Regions from separate parts of the Homo sapiens genome. Here all the other regions are linked to region 6. The links are contacts of gene promoters, found by promoter capture Hi-C in blood cells and fetal thymus (Javierre and others, 2016). All regions are on one chromosome and are shown on one strand. The core of a region is centred on a gene start or on the middle of the fragment in contact, and the rest is flanking DNA. Distances in the headings are between cores, read along the strand shown.

The links. The method cuts DNA at HindIII sites, captures the fragments that hold promoters and counts their contacts. A CHiCAGO score of 5 or more calls a contact.
Region 1: a fragment that was not itself captured here is called in contact with the fragment with the promoter of CETN3 in region 6 in 3 of 17 cell types (total B cells, M2 macrophages and non-activated CD4 T cells); the score reaches 7.6 in total B cells.
Region 2: a fragment that was not itself captured here is called in contact with the fragment with the promoter of CETN3 in region 6 in 1 of 17 cell types (naive CD8 T cells); the score reaches 9.8 in naive CD8 T cells.
Region 3: a contact is called between a fragment that was not itself captured here and the fragment with the promoter of CETN3 in region 6, in 2 of 17 cell types (total B cells and naive B cells). The highest score is 10.2, in total B cells.
Region 4: a contact is called between a fragment that was not itself captured here and the fragment with the promoter of CETN3 in region 6, in 3 of 17 cell types (naive B cells, total B cells and M2 macrophages). The highest score is 11.7, in naive B cells.
Region 5: a contact is called between a fragment that was not itself captured here and the fragment with the promoter of CETN3 in region 6, in 3 of 17 cell types (total B cells, non-activated CD4 T cells and activated CD4 T cells). The highest score is 7.5, in total B cells.
Region 7: a contact is called between a fragment that was not itself captured here and the fragment with the promoter of CETN3 in region 6, in 5 of 17 cell types (total CD4 T cells, naive B cells, naive CD4 T cells and 2 more). The highest score is 8.0, in total CD4 T cells.

The regions. Positions count from the first base shown.
Region 1 is chr5:87,420,088-87,422,787 of GRCh38, reverse strand. The region is part of intron 1 of LOC105379066 (a long non-coding RNA gene); the gene reads right to left. It also overlaps the pseudogene RNU6-727P. Among named protein-coding and RNA genes, the nearest start is that of CCNH, 8.5 kb to the right of the region's middle. The HindIII fragment of the contact is 1,442 bases long and covers 652-2,093 here.
Region 2 is chr5:88,142,536-88,145,235 of GRCh38, reverse strand. No RefSeq gene overlaps it. Among named protein-coding and RNA genes, the nearest start is that of TMEM161B, 120 kb to the left of the region's middle. The HindIII fragment of the contact is 948 bases long and covers 887-1,834 here.
Region 3 is chr5:87,763,375-87,766,074 of GRCh38, reverse strand. No RefSeq gene overlaps it. Among named protein-coding and RNA genes, the nearest start is that of LINC02144, 32 kb to the right of the region's middle. The HindIII fragment of the contact is 193 bases long and covers 1,247-1,439 here.
Region 4 is chr5:87,783,654-87,786,353 of GRCh38, reverse strand. No RefSeq gene overlaps it. Among named protein-coding and RNA genes, the nearest start is that of LINC02144, 52 kb to the right of the region's middle. The HindIII fragment of the contact is 3,740 bases long and covers 1-2,700 here.
Region 5 is chr5:88,232,353-88,235,052 of GRCh38, reverse strand. All of the region lies in intron 2 of TMEM161B (transmembrane protein 161B), which reads left to right. Among named protein-coding and RNA genes, the nearest start is that of TMEM161B, 35 kb to the left of the region's middle. The HindIII fragment of the contact is 3,354 bases long and covers 1-2,700 here.
Region 6 is chr5:90,408,307-90,411,006 of GRCh38, reverse strand. CETN3 (centrin 3) reads left to right here and starts at 1,251. Exons shown (of 5, transcript NM_004365.4): 1 at 1,251-1,362. The coding sequence starts at 1,346. LOC731157 (a long non-coding RNA gene) reads right to left here and starts at 1,007. Exons shown (of 2, transcript NR_105024.1): 1 at 703-1,007; 2 at 338-507. RefSeq lists an enhancer at 1,282-1,481. The HindIII fragment of the contact is 6,726 bases long and covers 1,161-2,700 here.
Region 7 is chr5:88,253,648-88,256,347 of GRCh38, reverse strand. All of the region lies in intron 1 of TMEM161B (transmembrane protein 161B), which reads left to right. Among named protein-coding and RNA genes, the nearest start is that of TMEM161B, 14 kb to the left of the region's middle. The HindIII fragment of the contact is 2,599 bases long and covers 1-2,567 here.

The DNA of each region.
Region 1 (2,700 bases), core at 123-2,622, 3.0 Mb after region 6:
CAAATGGTCTCTGTTTCAGCTCCTCAGCTCTGCTGTTGTAGCTTGAAAACAGCCAAAGATGACAATATGGAAATGAACAAGTGTGGCTTTGTTTCAATAAAACTCACTAAAGTGATGGTTAATTTCATATGTTCACTTGACTGCAACACATGGTGCAAGGTATTTGGTTGGAAATTGTTCTGGGTGTGTCAGTAAGGATATTTATAGATGAGATTAACATTTGAATCAGTAGACTAAGTGAAGCCGATTGCCCTCCACAATGTGAGTGGGCCTCCATCAATCCATTGGAGGCCTGAATACCACAAAAGATGAAGTAAGGGAGAATTCACTGTCTGTCAGACTGTTTTCTTCTCCTGCACTTCAGCTGAAACCTCTACCATTGGTTCTCCTGGTCCTTAGCCTTGCACTGGAACTATAACACTAACTCTCCTGGGTCTCCACCTTGTAGAATGCAGATCCAAATCATGAGACTTCTCAGCCTTCATAATTATGTGAGCCAATTCCTTATAGTAAATATATACGTAGGGGCACTGATAGTCTATGGCATGAACTGGTAGCAAAGATACACAAAATACCTGCACTGAACACTCCTAATCAACCATTTACAAGAAGCAACAAGTTGGGTGGCTGTGTATATGGTAATTCCAAGCTTTTTTGGAAAACTAATCAATACAATAAGATTGACTGGTTGTTCCACTGTTGCTGGACAAAGTGGTGAAGGAAAAGAATGAGCTCGGGGATTCAAATTCACAGCTTGAGCACCACATAAATGACCTGAGTTTCTATCTGTGTCCTAAAGGAGACCCTTATCTCCTATAGCCAAAGGGCTAGGTTGAAAATTGAATGCAGAATACCATCCCGAGACTAAATTACAATTTAATTTCTTATAAATTCCCAGCCTTGTCGAATGTCTGCTGTTAAAGTGTGGGCACTGATTGGGAAAGAATAAGATTTAGGATGAGGATGTGTGGGAAGACCTTGACAAAGCTGAGGATATTTTGTCTCTAAATTCTGATGTCTCTTTACCAGTGGAAGAGGCCTCTCCACTCCCAGAAGGCATGCCTCCCCATCCCCTGTGGAAACAGCCTCCCCATGCCCCAGTGTTAGTGGCCTCCCCACTACCAGTGGCATCAGCCTTTTTAATCCAGTCTGAGATTAACCCTGCATTGCCTGAGGAAAGTTTAATGGCCTCCCATGAGACAGTTGCCATGCAAGACAATGCTGACTGTCCTAAGACCCACCTCTCTTTGTTTCTAGACCTATAGCTAGACTCAAGTCCCAGCAGGCCCTTAAAAGTGAGGTAAAAAGTGTGACTCATGAGAGGGTTCACTACATGTCAACAGAACTGCTTGAGCTTTCTAATTTGTACAGACAGAAGTCCAGGAAACATGTGTGGGAATGAACATTAAGAGTGTGAAATAAAGGAAGATAAAGTTAGATCAGGCTGAATTTATTGATATGGGCTCACTAAGCATAGCCTGCATTTAGTGTTACGGCTCAGAGAGTTGGAAAGGGCACCATGAATTTGTTCAGTTGGTTGGCTGAAACACGTTCTAAAAAGTAGCCCACAGTAAGTGAACTGAAAATGTCAGACTTGCCTTGGTATAATGCAGAGGAAGAAATTCAAACGCTTAGGGAGATTGTGAAATGTTAGAGTGGATTTGTCATGCAAGACCTATCCACCCACACTGGAAGGATCCATAAAACAAACTTTCACCAGTATTGAGAGAAATAAATGTGTGAGGGGGGCCCTGGCATCCTTGAAGAGTTCTTTGATGCCTCTTCTCTGTAAGCAAGACCATCTTAAGTATGGATTTGCATGCAATGCTTCTACCAAAACTGTGATCCTGGACTTACAGAATGCCTTATCCATGGGCACAGGATTCCACAGATTCCACACAGCATTGCTTCTGATTAAGGGACTCACTTCACAGCAAAAGAAGTATGGTAATGGGTCCATGCTCATGGAATGTATAGGCCTTATCATGTTGCCCACTATCCTGAAACAATTTGATAGAACAGTAGAATGGCCTTTGGAGAACCTAGTTACAGCACGAGCTAGATGGTAATATTTTGCAGTGCTGAGACAAGCTTCTCCAGAAGGCTGCACATTCTCTGAATCAACATCTAATATATAGATAGAGCTGTTTCTTCCATAGCAAGGACTCATGGGTCCAGGAATAAGGGGCAGAAACGGGAATGAATTTATTCACTATTACTCCTTGTGACCCCCTAATAAAATGTTTGCTTCCTGTTCCCATTACCTTATGCTCTACTGGCCTAAAAGTCTTAGTTCCTGAGGGAGAAATGCTTCCACTAGGAGATACAACAATGAAAACTGTGCTCACTTCAGCAGCACATATACTGAAATTGGAACGATACAGAGAAGATTAGCATGGCCCCTGTGCAAGGATGACATGCAAATTCATGAAGTGTTCCATTGAAAAATAAATTAATAAAAACTGCTGCCCAGCCACTTTGAATTCCTCATGCCTCTGAATCAACAGGCAAAGAAGAGAGTTGTGGTGACTGATCAGAACTAGCAAGGGGAAATTGGACTGCTACTGCACAATGGAAGTAAGGTTGAGTATGTCTGAAATGCAGTAGAACCTGTAGGATGCTCCTCTGTACTACATGTCCAGTAATTAAAGTCAATGTAAAATTACAACAACCCAATCCAGGCAAAACTCTTAATGCCCC
Region 2 (2,700 bases), core at 111-2,610, 2.3 Mb after region 6:
CTTCCAGAGCCTCTCGTTAGGTCTCAGAAAGACTTTTTTAGGGTCCCTACTCCCTTTTCATCTGAGCTTTACTCTTGACTTTTGTTATGAATTCCCAAAAGGAAGGCAGGCAATAGGGGAGGGACCATGGAGGAAAAAATAAGAGCTAACAGGAGACACTCAGATTATATATTTATTTTATATAAAGAAATGATACATATGTAATTTTAGATTTTCTTCCGAATTAGAGTTCTCAGGCTATAGAAAACCTATTTTTAACACCCGCTTCTCCCATAACGGCCTTGATTGCTCAAATTGCTTCTAATTGGATGGCACACATTACTGGAGACGAAGGACGAATGACAAGCAGCCTTCATTCTTTTGCAGATTTAGATAATGTCTCTGGATGAATATCTTTTCTGATCAGGAAGAACAGGAAAACTCTTAAACTGCCTGCAGTTTTCATAAGGGGTTTGTGCAATAGGGGGAAATGTCCTGACCATCACACGAGCATGGAAATTGATGGCATTTTACAGAAAGCACCGCATAATAATCTAGTGCCACCGTTTTTCCTCCCGGATCTGTCATGGTACAAAGAGTAAACACACTTTTTTTTTTTTAAACTCACTTAGCCTTCCTTCCATCTCTTATGTGGGATCTGTAAAAGTTTTCAGTAAACCTCTTTAAAACGTATACGTTATCCATATCCCCCTTCCCCTTGTTCAAGGCTTGGCCGGCCCTGAGTGCCCTTGGTGCGGCGTGCCAGCCCTGACAGCCGCAAGCAACGGTCATTATTACCTCGCAGACCGGCGCATTTCAGAGTCAGCGACTAGCGGATACCCATGGGCTCCGGGCTATTGTACCACCGAGAGGTGTAAACCCAACTGGAGTTTGCTGAAGGCAAGCTTCCAAGGTGAGGGCTGGGTTTTCTCGGGTGCTTTCGGGCCGATCCGGGGTGGGGCACCTCAGAGGCTAACACTCATCTAAAGCTGGTAGAGGCTGAAATATTATGGACACCTGAACAAATCCGAGACACGCATGATGTCTCGCTAAACTGCAGTTTCATTTTTTCCACTACCCAGAAACAAACAAACAAACAAATACATAAATAAAGTCATTGTTCTAGGCCAGAGAAAATATGCCAACAAGAAGTCACCCTTTCTGTTTCAACTTCAAAGGCAATGGATTTTTCTTGCAATTCTTTTATTTTAGAAAAGGAAACTCAGAATGGCAGGGGGAAGCCCCTCCAGGCCACTTTAAATTTCTTCACAGTAGAGTCCTGGGCGAAGAGTGAAGATCCTGGGATAAGGGTGTTTGTGGGTTCTTTGAATGGAAGCCCACCCAGGGCACCTGGCTGCAGAGTAGGGCGTTGGCACCGCCCGGATCGGTAGCCCGCCGCCTGCGCCTTTCCACCATGCCCAGGCACAAGTTTCCTTTTCTCTTCGTGCAGCAAAGTAAGAATGCCCCAATTTTTGAGGAATCTAACTCTTCTGCTGCATTAAAGGCCCACATGCTCTATAGTTTCACATTTTACATTGGCCCTGAGAATGAGGTTATTAGTCTCATAAGAAAAGATTGGGCAGTAAGAAATGCTAAAAGATGGAATTCCAAATTGGCCCCTGCAGTAGGAGTGTGCGTCACCCCGGCCTTGGCTGGGTCGCCAAACACTGTCGAAACTTTCTGGCTGTCTTTAGAAGATACCCTCTACTAGTCACTTGACGGGCAGGAGGTGCAACGCGGAAGGAAACATCACGGATTGGGGGTACTGGAAACTTTTAAAAGGTCTGGAAAATCCCTCCGATTTAGTGGATGCTTTTCCGCGGCAGTTTAAAAACTGAAAGGCAACATAGAAGCTTCTACTTTAAAAAGGTAGCCCTGGTGATCCAATCCCGATCTTTTGGCTGGCAAAGAGGCAATTGCCTGAAAACGAAATTGGCATTCAAAAAGGGTCAGGTACAGCCCAGAGTCCCTGTACTCATTTTAGACTCAAGAAAAGGCGCTTCCCATCCCTAGCTCTTTTAGAAAGAGAAAGGAAAAGGAGGAGAAAGCAGAAAGGGGGGAGAGCCGAGAGCGCAAGAAAGAAAGAGAAGAGGGGGATATTTAGCAAGTTAAAAGGTTAAATGTTTGAACAGATTTGTAAATATATAGACAACCCTTGTTATTTGGGATGTGTAATAATGCCTTTTTGTGGCGCTGTCTGGCTGGGAGGCTGCCGAGGACCGCTCCCTGGCACCTTCTTCACTAGGAAATGAACAGTAAGTTCATGGACTCAAAAAACAAAAACAGGGCTACCCTCCTTTGGAGGAAAGGGAATTCTCCCTCTATTCGGTCATTGAAAAATAAAAAGAAAAGAAGAAAAAAGAAAGTAAAAGGAAAGCAGGATCAATGAGATTTTATTTTTCTTAGGTATGATTTTTCAGGGAGCAACCCAGAAAGCTGTCTTCAGGCTGAAACAATTTCAAAGTATTGTTTAAGCGGATGACATTCTCCAGCACTCAGTTATCCATTGTGCATCTATTATATCTTTGAACTCAACTCTCTTGTCTAACAAGGTTGTGTGTGTGTGCCTGTTGTGTATGCGTGTGTGTTTAGAAAACCTAGGTTCCCCAGTGGTGCTTCCTTGGCTGAATAGGGTGGGTTTCTTTCGTTTTTCTCGCATTGGTGTTTTCTGGACAACTGTACTGAGCGCTGTTGATGGCATCGGTGCTCTGCCCGTGCCCG
Region 3 (2,700 bases), core at 94-2,593, 2.6 Mb after region 6:
GTGTGACTAAGTAGGGAAGGCTGCTCTAACTTACTGAAAGGGAGGGCAAAATTGGAGTTTCAGTTTGTTAATACTTTTATCTCCTTCATTTCGGCTTATAGTATGTTTTCCCCTCTGCCCCTTAGACAATCACAGCATCGGTAATAGCAGGATGCTTACACAGAATAATTCAGACCTTCTGACCTTCTGACCTCTGATTATATTTGATTAGGTATGAGTTTACCTGGTAAAATTCATATGTGATCTCCAAGTTCCTACCTTCTAAACTAGTTCCAAAACATAGGGTCTGGCCTATGCAAATGCAATAAATAAGCTAATAATTATTTATTGAGTAGCTATTATGAATTATATACTCTGCTTGAAAGTGAAACATAAATCAGGATCCTACAGTTGTTGTGTAGGGCCAGAGGCAAGGATTTGTAGTCAGATGACCTGAGTTTGAGATCCAGTTAGCACTTACTAGCTCTTAACTTGGAGAAAAACACTTAATCTCACTAAATCCTATTTTCCTCTTTTGTAAAATAAAAACAACAAAACTGTCTATAACATGAGATTCTTGAGAGATTTAAAGAAGATAATCTATTCAAACTGATTTTTTAATAAATAGTAGACTACTAAGCAAACACAAAGAAATGTAGCAGCGATCTTCTGGGTCAGATGACCTGAATTTGGGTATGAGCTGGATGTAGATAAAGAATTGCCTTGAAGAAGCCCAAGTCCCTAAAGAATAAGGAACACACACACACACACACACACACACACACATATACACACATCTGTTTCCTCTAGAGTAGGGGTCCCAACGCACCAGTCTGCGGCCTGTTAGGAACTGGGCTGCATAGCAGGAGGTGAGTGGCTGTCGGGTAAGCATTGTTACCTGAGCTCTGCCTCCTGTCAGATAAGCAGTGGCATTAGATTCTCACAGGAGCCTGAACCCTATTGTGAACTGCACATGCGAGGGATCTAGCTTGTGGGCTCCTTATGAGAATTTAACTGATGCCTGGTGATCTGAGGTGGAATAGTTTCATCCTGAAACCACCCCCCAGTCCCCCACCTCCCCCCCGCACACACACACCACGAAACCAGTCCCTGGTGCCAAAACGTTGGGGATCGCTGCTCTAGAGGTAGCAGGAGTTTGTCAAGGTTTCCTGACTGAGTTTCTAGGAATAAGATATGAAGTGTGAGGAAGATTTCAGCTGCTAGTAGAAGTTACAAGTACTAGACTTGGGGACCACCAAAGGAAGCTTTTCTCCACTTACAATTCTGGTATTAGGAAAAAAAAGTGGCAACACCAATAACCCAGTTATTGGCTGTCACTCTGTGATGCCACAGAAAGTTAATATTCGAGGGGTAGCTTTGTGCCCAGAACTTGAAAATGTAAGGTGACTAAAGTAACAGCATCACTGAAAGAAAGAAAAACTGACTAGAAGCAGCAAGCTTTATATCAGCTACCTAAGAAGGAAGGGACTCGAGGAAGAGTTCCAAAATTACTCTGATGAGGCTCAGGTCCATAAAGTCAGTTTTATGGTTGGTGTTCTGACTGCTATTCTTTGAATTGACCCCTTTGGTTATAGAAAGCACCTGATACTTAAACATACAAAAATTCTAAGTTGACGTACAACTTTCTTTATAGGATGTTTAATATGATTGAGATGAAAGAGCATTCCAGTGTATTTTTCCCACTTTCAAGAATCCTGATTGAATTCAATTTTGGCAGAGTAATTAATAGAATAATTTGTGCTCTATTCTTACTGATATACTTATTTCCCTTCACATAATCCTGCAAAAACTGTCTAGTCCTTGTCTTTCTGTGCTTTAGACGTTGTCATATTTCCAGGGATCCAAAGATCCAGTACTTTGGTTTGGAAAAACTCAGACTCTTAGAAATGATGGGGCTATATTTATCAATAGGGAGAAGGCCCACCCCCCACCCCCAAGGATTAGGAGGGCCAATTGGAGAAGTAAGAGAGGTTTAGAAAGATTTAGTTTTTAGGAGATAGCAGAAGGAAGGAACTAGGGTCCTGCCAGTTCTGCAGATGAAAGGACCAGGGCTTTGGTACCATGCAACATCATAGAGAGATGGCTAGACCTCAGATGGAAGCATTTATGGTAATACCTAGAGAGGGTGGACGTTATGACTTGAGTCTTCAATTTAGAACAGTGGAGCCACCTGAGACCCTGCTGTCTCAGACAATGAGTCTATTAGGGTAGCCAATATGGACTGAAGATGAGACGATGCCCCACAGAACAACCTGGAATGTGTAGGACCCTAGAATTCTTATATGACCTAAGGAGTAGATTCTCAAATTATTTCTAACGTCATTTTTAGAAACATTTTCTCTCCATTCAATTAAGAAGGGACTTGAAGCAGTTTTATCTGCTTTAGAAAAATAAAAATTTTTAAATATGATGATTCTTAAATTCCACACATTTAGAAGAGAATTTACATTTACTATGTCATGAAGCGTTTCAATAGTGACTCCATAATGGACACTGACTTATATTTTTAGATACCTCAGTAAGATAGGTGTTATTCTAATCATGTTACAGATACGGAGAATTAAACTCAAAGAGATGTCATTTGTCTTGCTCCATGTTTTATAACTCATAAATTATGAAGTCTTAATTTAAACTCCAGTCTCAAGCTACAAACTCAAGTTTCTGTTATTAACTGTGCTGCTGTTAGAAATGGGCCAAAAG
Region 4 (2,700 bases), core at 143-2,642, 2.6 Mb after region 6:
GATGTGTTTGCTCCGAATGCTGAGTTTAGTGAAGAGTGATGCACCTGACTCCTCTGGATACTTCCAAATGAGTCTGGCTAATTGGGGTAACCTAAGCCAATGGCCATTTGAAAGACTCGAGGTCAGGTGTTTTATTGCTGGGATAGTATTCAAAAAAATGACTGTCAGGGGTGAACGAAGAATTATGTCAAGAGCATTCAGCATTACTGCCACTAAAAAGAGAGGAGGGGAAAAACATTGTGAAGAAAAACATGTCATTTTCTAAATGAGCTAGGGGAGGAGGATAGGGCAATAATGTGGCCTTCAGCTGTTGGTTTATTAGGTTTCCATTCCCATGATCCACATCTGCGTTAGGCAGAAATAGTTTTACTTTTAATACAATTGCACTCTACTACTTTGCTTTCTTATGGAGTAAAAAATAGCTGTGAAAAACGTGCAAATGAGGTTTGTTCTGTGTGGCTGTTGTTTCCCTATCTCCTATGCTATTTTCCTGGTTCTATAGCAAATCTTAGCATTGTTGTCTGATTTGCCATGGAACAGTGAACATTGCTTTTCCTAGCCAAATCATCCAGTGTTAAATGCTATGTGATACAGATCAATAGGGCATCTACAGCTGTACAAAAAGGGCAATGTTGTTTCTATTAACAATTTTGAAAGAGAGTGTGGCCTAGTGGTTAAAGGATTAAATAGGTTGTTGAGGTTTTTGATGTCTTGAATTCTAATTCTACCTAAGCCTTTGGATTCCTGATGAAGTTGTTAGCAGATTTTTTTCATTTTGATCTGCACCAATATACTCATGGGTTATATACTTGGGGATATTATTATTGTGTGATCATTCAATAAATAATAAAAATCTGGAGGACTGATGAAGATTGGAAAAACATCTTGATGACTTCAAAAAAAATGTTGCTTTAAATATTCAATCAGATTAATTACTAATGTTATTTTTCACATAATGGTTTTGTGTTTCAGGCTGTTCCTCCATCTCGCCTGAGCCCATTTAGCAAACTGGGGTAAGGGCTTGTATTGGTTCTAGTTATCTGGATTTTCCTTAAGGAACAGGATACGTTTTGTTTCCTGTAAAGACATAACTTGTCAGTGGCATTTTAATGAACTGTAATGTAGAAAAAGTGGTTGGCTTTTTGGTGCCATTGCCAACCCCAGGTGCAAATGGTTGTTTTTGAGGATTAGCAATATACATCCCTCTTTATTTCATTTTGGGGCAGAGGCCTGTATGAGTCTGTGTGTGTGTGGTTATGTGTGCACATATGTCTATGTGAGAGAAAGAGAGAAAGAAACCGAGACAGAAGAGTTTATAGAATTGTATGTTGCTGTGGTTAACTAAAGCTAACCTTTGAAAGTAGTATAGGCCCTCCTATCGTATTTCCTGCAGAATCAGATTTCTGGATTCCAGATGATCTGAATTCTGTCTTCCTTCCTCCTTTTCCCTCTGTCTGTCTCTGTTTCTCTGTCTCTGTCTCACTTTTCTCTGTTTCTCTTTCTCTATTTCATTCTTTCTCATTCTCCCCCATCCCCAGTTCATTTCAGAAGAATGTTACATGTTTATAAACAATTCACTCAAGCAGCAAAGAGAAGAGAAGGAGGAAAGAGACATATTATTCTTGGAACAAAGACACATATTATCTTTAGTGTAATCAAATAATAGAAGTCCAACATTAATTATATTCAAATATCTGCCATTTGGTTTTAGTGCACTTTATTTTATTTTACTTTTTTATTTTATGTGTTTAATCTTGTACTCCATAAAAGTGGGAATGCAGCCCTTTGTAACTGGAGACTGGTGGAAAACTAAGCGTTCTGAGGCTGATGAGACTGCACATGGAAATGGAGATTGTGGCTATCACTTTGGTCTTATTGGTGACCCAGCCTTGGTCACAGATTAAATACTTAGGGCAGTGCATTGTGGGAAGACATTTGTGAAAACACTTGGAAAACTAGAATTAATATACTATGTTGATAAAGTTTTCTTGATTTTTGGAATAGTTGACTTAAGTTTGTGTGAAGGAATTAAATGAAATAGTCAACAATCAAGTATAATGTCTTCCCCAAATCAATGGGGGATTTAAAAAAACCATTTCTTCTATATTACTCATATTAAAGAGATATTAATTTCAGTCACATTAAGATGTTATATGCTTTCTCTGGCTTTCTTTAAAACCTCCTTATTTTCCTAATTTGTTCCAACAAGATTTTTATTTTAAAAGATGTAATTCAAACATGATATTCTGGTCTACAAAAGGGTAATTTTGCAGTTTTTAAAAGAAAGTACACTTATTTTATTAACAGTTTCCAAATTATTGGTGGGTCTCTTTTTAGTTTTTCTTAAAAATATACAATGACTTTGTAGAATCTTCACTACAGCATGAAACAAAAAATTTCTAGGTGAGAAAAACTTAAGAGCTTATTTCTGTATAATCACAACTCTGCTATTTAATGTTATTTATTATCACAGGGATCAATACTTAATTAGCTTAATGCTTAAATATTCAGCTATTTGAACATTTAATTATTAAATTATTTGATATTCAATTAACCTGGACAAATAAGCCAATCAATATTAAAAGACTTTCTCCGAACAACAAAATAAAACAAACGTTTTGTTATTTAAGTGAGATTCTGATCAATAGATTTTCTTTTATATTTTATGAATTCCGACATTACAGAGAACTAATTGACAAA
Region 5 (2,700 bases), core at 164-2,663, 2.2 Mb after region 6:
TTAGTAGAGTACAGTATCAGATTGGCTTTATTATCAGAGTCACTGCAGATAATCTGAGCATAAGTGAAAAAAGCCACCAAGTAGCCAAAGTAAAAGCTATGTACTGAAAGTTGTATATTTAACTTAAATATGAAAGGCTTATTTATTTATCTTAGAGACAGGATCTTGCTATGTTGCCCAGGCTGGTTTCAAACTCCTAGGCTCAAGCAATCCTCCTGCCTTAGCCTCCCAACGTGTTGGGATTACAGGTGTGAGCCACCACACCCAACTGAGTTTTTAAGTGAGATTCTGTTAATACTTACTCTCAATTTTCTAAGAAATATATTTTTTCCCATTTCAAAAAGAGTACATTCTACATGCTACATTCTAATGACTTTTATATCTGTATCTGTCTTCCAAGCCCATATTAGAAAGGCAAGCATAGTGCAGCAGTTGCAAGCAGGCCGTCATTTTATTGAGATAGACATACCACTTAATACCAAAGGAAAAGACTGGAAATTGAGACCAGAATACAAAATGTAGTAGCTGGGAACCATGCTATGTGGAATCAAACTGTATATGCAACACTGACTGCTAAAGAAAATTGTGAAACTGTACTTGTAGGTTTTACTTGGAATCTATGATCACAGACCTTAGATGGCTGCTTTATACTGCCTGGCAGAGTTTGTATGCTGTACTTCTCAGACAACTTTTTCAACCTAAATCCTTTCTCTCCAAAACTTAAGCATCTGTACCTCAGCCTCACCCTAAGCTCTTGAAACAAGCGCCCATCACTCTCATCTGTATACTACCAAACCACAACTCTGGTTAAATGTGCAGCCCCTCTTCTTTATCTTTAAATTTGTAAAATGTATTTTATCACCTGCTCCATTTCAGTTGGATTATTCCTGTTACCACACACACTTTTTTTTTAAACTTCTCCCATTTAAAGTAACAACAACGAATAAAGAAGTCACAGCCCTACCTCTCTCCCCCTTAAAAAACAAAGCCCCTCCATATCCATTTCTTAGTTTTTGGCCATTCCTCTATTTCCCTTTGTAGCCAACTTTGTTGAAATGTTGTCTACATAAACTTTACTTTTTCACTTTCTCATTAACTAGTGTTATACTATCTTTTAGTTCCTTTTTAGTTGGTTTTATTAATCCCTATGGATTTAGGTGCCACAATTATGTAATCACCTCAAATTATCTCTGAACTGCAGATTCTAATATCTAGTTGCCCTGTCACTTTTACTTGATGTCTCATGGGTACTTAAAACTCAGCATTTTTAAGTTCTTGATTTCTTCCTGATCTCTTCCATATCAGAAAAGGTACCATCATCTTCAAATCAGAAATGTAGATATTATCCTTTATTGCTTACTTTTGTTCACTCTCTACCTTTAGTCCATCAGCAAGACCTGTTGATTCACTGCCCTTGTCTCCCTCTAATTCACAGAACAACCAAAGGGATCTTAAAATGTGAATCAAATTATTTATCTACATTGCTTTGAGACCATTATTTAGCATAAAATCTGAAGTCCATACTATGACCTATTAGCCTTTGCATGATCTGTTCCCTTCTTACCTCTTCAGTCCCCTCTTATGTTTCTCCTTGAAGCTCTTGCCTCATTGCCTTTTAGTTACTGTAATGTCCTATGTTCTTTCATGCCTCTGTGCTTTTGGATTTGGTGTTCTCTGCCTGAAATGCTCTTCTTCTGTTTTCTCATTCTTTAGGTTGCTGGTTAAATGTCTCAGAGAAGTTTTTCCTCACCTAATATCTAAGGCTGTCTCTCACATTTTCACCACTTGTTTCATTCTTTCATGTGGTATGACAATTTATTTTTCACTATTTAATTGGTTAAATTTTACCCCAACTGGAATATAACCATCAAAAAGGCAAAGGCTTTGGCTTTAATTGGTTGTGATTATATCTCCTCTGCCTAGCAGAGTATCTGAATACAGAAGGTTCTCCCTAAGTGACTGATAAATGAATGAATGGGTAGGTGAATAACAGACTAGAAGTGACCCTAAAAGTATCGAGCATCCTTAGATTCCAACTTTGAACAATAATTCTCACTAATAAAGATAACCCTGAGTTATCCCATAGGAAATGTAATAAATCTAAGCCATTTTAGAGAAATGAGTTTACAAAATAAGATTTAACAAATATGAGTATATTTAAAAAGAAAATGTGTCTTAAGGCCAGGCGCGGTGGCTCACGCCTGTAATCGCAGCACTTTGGGAAGCCAAGGCGGGCAGATCATGAGGTCAGGAGGTGGAGACCATCCTGGCTAACACGGTGAAACCCCATTTCTACTAAAAAATACAAAAAATTAGCCGGACATGGTGGCGGGCGCTAGTAGTCCTAGGTACTCGGGAGGCTGAGGCAGGAGAATGGCATGAACCCGGGAGGCAGAGCTTGCAGTCAGCCAAGATCGTGCTACCGCACTCCAGCCTGGGTGACAGAGTGAGACTCTGTCTCAGAAAAAAAAAATAAGAAAATGTGTCTTAAAATATTTCATTACTATAGGGCTCTAAATAAAATCTAATTTTTCCTATACTGAGAGTTCTTTCACTAATTATTATTTCTCAAAGCTGAACAACTAATTTTAGTCTTTATACATGAGTTATTCTGGATCATTTTCTTTTATATGAGTTATTTCTTATAAGTGTTCTTCTAAATGTTATGCACTCATCTTCATTATTTGTGGATTTTGTTTT
Region 6 (2,700 bases), core at 2-2,501:
TAAAATTTAAAATACGAACAAAATAAAAGTTCCACTTTTGTTTTTTAGGGGTGCTATCCCTTAGCTAATTTTTAGCTTATTCTATCATACTATCTTTCCTTGTGCAAATTTAGCCCATCCTTCTAGGTCTAACGTTTATGTCACCTCCTTTAAGAAGCATATCTTGTGTTCTCTCCCTTCTCTAAAATTTTATATACATCCCTTAAACATATAATGTTTATATATTCTCCGCCTTCAACTCCCATCCTCAGGCTATTTTATTCACGTTTATGAGATTTGCTGTTTAGCTCAGTATTTTGTGGATTTTCAAAAGATTCCACTCAATTTACCGAGCACCTACGCACCAGACATTTTATTAGGTACAAGGAAAAGCGTTAAATAGATATAATCACGGCCTCCAAGAAATTGAACCTAGTAAGAGACACGAATAAGCAGACATTCAAGTGAGCTTTAGGAGACTTGGTTTGGTAGTGAAGACAGTCTCATGTGTGTTAACAGCTTACAGCACTGAAAAATAAGAGACAGAAGGGAACAAATCCGTTTCAAACAGTTCAAAGGAGGAAAGAGAGGGAAAGGTGGTTTAGATACAGCTAAATCATAAATAGCCTGATAATCTAACCCTGTGATAATCCAAGTACAGCCACAGCACCTGCCTCAGAATCACTTGGAAGGCTTGTGAGGAGTAAAAACGCAGATTCATACCTACTGAAATTAGAATGGAGAAACGGACATTTAAGTCTGCATTTTAAACACATTCCCCAGGTACTGAGGCCATTCCAAGTTTTAGAACAGAGCACAGCCAATTTTCGCAGACCTTGTTCCTCAAGTACTCCCTCCTTCTAGCCGGAGGGTGGCCTGCAGCATGTCCCTTCCCTTCCCACCGCCGAAGCTGTCCATCCAGTTTCTGAATGGCGGCCCACAGACCGCACGGCTTTACGAGAGAGGAACACAGCGCCCACCCGCCAAACAGCCACACAGGGATCGGAGGCCGGACCCGCAAAGGATTCGGGGAAAAACGCATCGAGCCAATCCGAAGGGCGAGAGCGGCCCTAGATTGGGGGGGCGGGGGGGCGTTAGGAGGTGGGCGGGGCACAGAAAAAAAATTTTTTTTTCCTTGATTGACGTAAAACCTACCCAATGAAAATAGAACTGGTAAAGCTTCCGCCCCCTAATAGGCAGAACCATAGCGACATTTCAACCAATCCAGCTCAAAAGTGTCTATGTTGTGGGAGGTCCCTGAGGCCGCTGAGGTCGTTCGTGTCTGTTGAACGGCTGTGGGCGTCTTGCTGCCTTGGGTAGGGGGTTAAAATCGTTCTTGAGAGGAACGTCTCTGTGCGAAGAGATAATGAGTTTAGCTCTGAGGTCGGTAATAAGGAGGCGGCAGTGCTCTCCACACCCCGGAGCGGGGCCCAGGGAGGGTGTGTGTGGAAGGGAGGACGTTTGGGGCCGAGGCGAGGCAGGGGATGTAGTTTGGGACGCGGGAAAGGAGCCTAGGGCAGCCTGCCCGGATCACTCACCCTCTGGGCTCTGATGCCCTGCAGGGAACGAGACCAGTGCATTTCTGCTAAGGAGGTTATTTCTGTCAGCGCGTAGGGCTTTGGACTGCCAGAAGGTTGGGCTTAGTTGCGAGCGAGGTGGGAATGAAATATCGCGAGGCTTCTACTCTTGTTTCTCAGATCAGGTCGCGGACATCCCTTCATTCATCCGTGTGCCTGGTCAGGGCCCCACCTCGGCTGCTCCGCTGCTAATGCAATCACCCACCTATAAATTTTGGAAATAACAAAAACTCTTTCCTCTTCTCCCAGGGCCCTGCTTTACGGTGTAATTGGAGACCCATTTTAGTGACTTTAATTGGCAGTCTGTCTCTTGGATTTCCTAAATTTCTTGCATTTTTTTACCTTTCAGTTCTAACCTCTAACCCTCTGTTGCCCTCTCCCACTATGTAGACGTTGTACCGTAAAACTATCCATACACTTACGACACTCCGAAAATATTCCATGTTCTGCTAAGGGATAATCATGGTACCCTTGGATGGGGTCAGGGGTGGGTCGGTTCTGGACTTGGCCTCCAAAAGTCTCAGGAAGGAAAAGACTGACCCCAGGAATACCCAAGTTTGTGTCAAGTCAGGTCTCATGAAAGGAAGATCTTCCTCAGCTTTGTTATACTGCACCTACTAGTCACTTCCTAGCTTTTTTTTTTTTTTTTTGGAGCTTTCAGAGACCAAAACGACTTTCAAATGCAACTAGATAGGTGTTTTAAGTACAGTCAACTGGTTTGACATGTTAATGTGTTACCGGATTGTGTTTCAAAACTCGTTATTCCAGTGTTGCGGCTCCATTTGAAAATTTGGAGCACATTTAGATGGGCAGCTCTTAAGGAAAACATTTCTGGCTTTAAAATAATTTTTGCTTTTTTTCTTTAAGCGTTTCCAGAGTTTATGAGAAGTTAACCTCCGGTTTACATGTTAAATGAGACAAGACTCATCACATTTTTATATAGAATGAAGCACAAACATTGTATATTGGCATCTAATATTTGTCATATGTTTAGACTCATTAATATTTTCGATGGTTTGTTAATATCAATGGAGGAAATGACACATAAATTGCCAAACTGTTAAAAACGTGTAATCTAAAAACATTTTGAACCAACAGTGCTAAAATACTGTATAAGTTAATTCACTTTTTTTTTGTAATTTTA
Region 7 (2,700 bases), core at 19-2,518, 2.2 Mb after region 6:
TAGTACTGTAATGAAACATTTATGCATGTCTTGGCTAGAGATTAAGTGGCTTGTTAATATGTTTAAGAATATTTTGTTCCTTGTCAACACTTTAATGACTATGGCATTGCTTTATATGAGATATTACATTATTTATTCAACCTCTTTTAACTGTGGAAAGTTATCTTTTAAAATAAACAACTGTTAATTTGAACACCAATATGTTAAAATGGTTTGTGACTTGTGTTTAATTAGAATGTTTTCTATTGTTATGAAAAAGTATCTTTTTCCTTTCCCTCTTTGTTGTTGGTCTTCCATTTGCCTTGTCATTTATACTGCGGAAAATGTCTTTTTATTTCTAAATTTAATCAAAATCTGATAAATGACTTTATATTGTCATCTTTATCCGAAAGTCTGGAGCTGGTATTTTTTAAGATAGTTACATCAAATTCACACATTCTACTGTTGTAGTTCTAATCTTTAAAAAATTTAGAATGTATCTAGGCATTGAGGATTTATGCTTTTTGACCTTTGAAAGGGTCAAAAAGCTGTACTGAGGTATTGAGGATTTATGCTTTTTGACCTTTGGAAGGACATTAAATTTCTTGTTTTTCTGATTTAGAAAATGGCAAAAAAATTATGCTTTCACTTTTTAAGGAAATTAAAAATGTATTTTATGCTGTAAAACAGTGCTGACAAACCCAATTAATTCTGTAAACAATTAAATTTGGAAATAGATAAATCTGAGTTCAAATTATAGTTGTTGACAATTATGTTTTATAATTCTATTTGTAATATTAAGATGAACTATATGAAATTGCCATTTTGTAGGTCAAGACAATTAAGTATTAGCAATTTCATAGGATTCAACCAATAAATGTACATTAGATATCAATAGGTGTTCTTATTCTTTAGCTGCTTTTCTACCAAATTCTTCTGTTCTTTCATTTCATATTTAGTATAGGCCCCCATTTTTTACTTCCAGTCCAGTTTACTGTGTCTGTAAGCGCTGCAGGTATGTTAGAAAACCAGTGAAGGCCACAGTAGTGGGATACCAGAGATGCTCTATGGGAAGGAAGTCTGCTGGTCTCTTCATGATTGTTTTGTGCTGCTTTTATCAGCTTTGGCATTATATGGGAGAATTTCTCTTCTGGATTAGACAGTCCTCAGACCTACCAAAGAACCTATTGGAAATAACCATCTTCAAAAACCCAGTTTGGGTCCATCAGTTCCACATACATAGTTTCATCACACTTTTCTTCTCAAGTTTCTAGACCTCTTAGTCACATTGCCAGAGTGGTAATTCTGGTTTTTATCTTATGACATGACATTTTTTTCCTCCTTTGAAGACCCTGATCTTGGTGTGGTTATTCTTCAAATTTTTCTTTCAAACCTTGTCCATTTTGGTGCTTTCTTTGGTTCTTTTGATTACCCACTTAATCATCCTGGATTTTCCTATTCTTGTAACCTGTATAATGTCCCATGATGATCAATCTTTTTTTTTTTTTTCCCTTAAAATTTTTTTTACAGTTACAGAGGGTCTCACTTTGTCAGGCCGGAGTACAGTGGTGCACTCATGGCTCACTGCAGTCTCAACCTACTGGGCTAAAGTGATTCTCTCACCTCAGCCTTCTGAATAGCTGGGATTACAAGCACATGCCACCATACTCAGCTAATTTTTTTGTTTTTACTTTTGGTAGAAGGGTGTCTCGCTATGTTGCCCAGGCTGGTCTTGAACTTCTTGCCTCAAGTAATCCTCCTGCCTTGGCCTCCCAAAGTGTTGAGATTATGGACATGAGCCACCACATCCTGCTAAATCAATCATTTTTCTGATGTTTTTACCTAATATGCTGAATCATGCAGATTTGCAGGTGCTTGGCAATCATTCAATCAATTCTATGTTCCTCTTTTGTCAAAATTTTCACAAATTTTAGCTGTCCCTTCTTCCTCTCCTTTCTTTTACAGCTCAACTCCTTACCCCATTGTGGTTCTTAGGAGATGATCTGAGAATTTTGAATTTTGAAATTTGAAATAATCTATAATAAGTTCTTCAAATAACTCTATCTACTGGAAGGTAGGACATCTAGAACGTTGACCTAGTTTTTCAACTACCCTGATCAAATTCATATAAACTGTGAGACCTCTGTTTTCAGAATTAATACATCTCCATACCTATATGTGCTTTCAATTCAGTAGGATATATGAGATCTTGTAATAGATAAACTTTTTTATGTTTTTGATCTCATCTATTTCTGACCCTTAAGCAGTTAAATTCCCACATTTAACTCTTCAGCACCTCCCTAATGTTGGTTCCTTCCCTTTTGCTTCAAGCATGTACATTTCTCTCTTATAATAAATATATTTTATATATATATGTATTCTAGTAACTGTCAGATTTTTCTTTTATTGCTTAGTTTATCCAATGATTATGCCCATTATTTCCATTTTATCTTTACATAATCACCTAAGTCTTATTTTACTGAAACTTACAGAGATAATTACTAATCTCATGCCTAATTTATTTTTTCTCTAAAAGTTTTAATTTTAAAAATTTTGCTTTTGATTTAAAAGCTGTTTTGCTTCAAGCTTTTATGGTATTGCTTGGACTATTTCAGTGGATTTCTAATATAGTTCCTTGCTTCCAATTACTTTTACCCCTTCAATTTATTTTTCCCATTATAGTTGCAGAGTCATTTCTCCAAACATATTTGATTTGGTTAC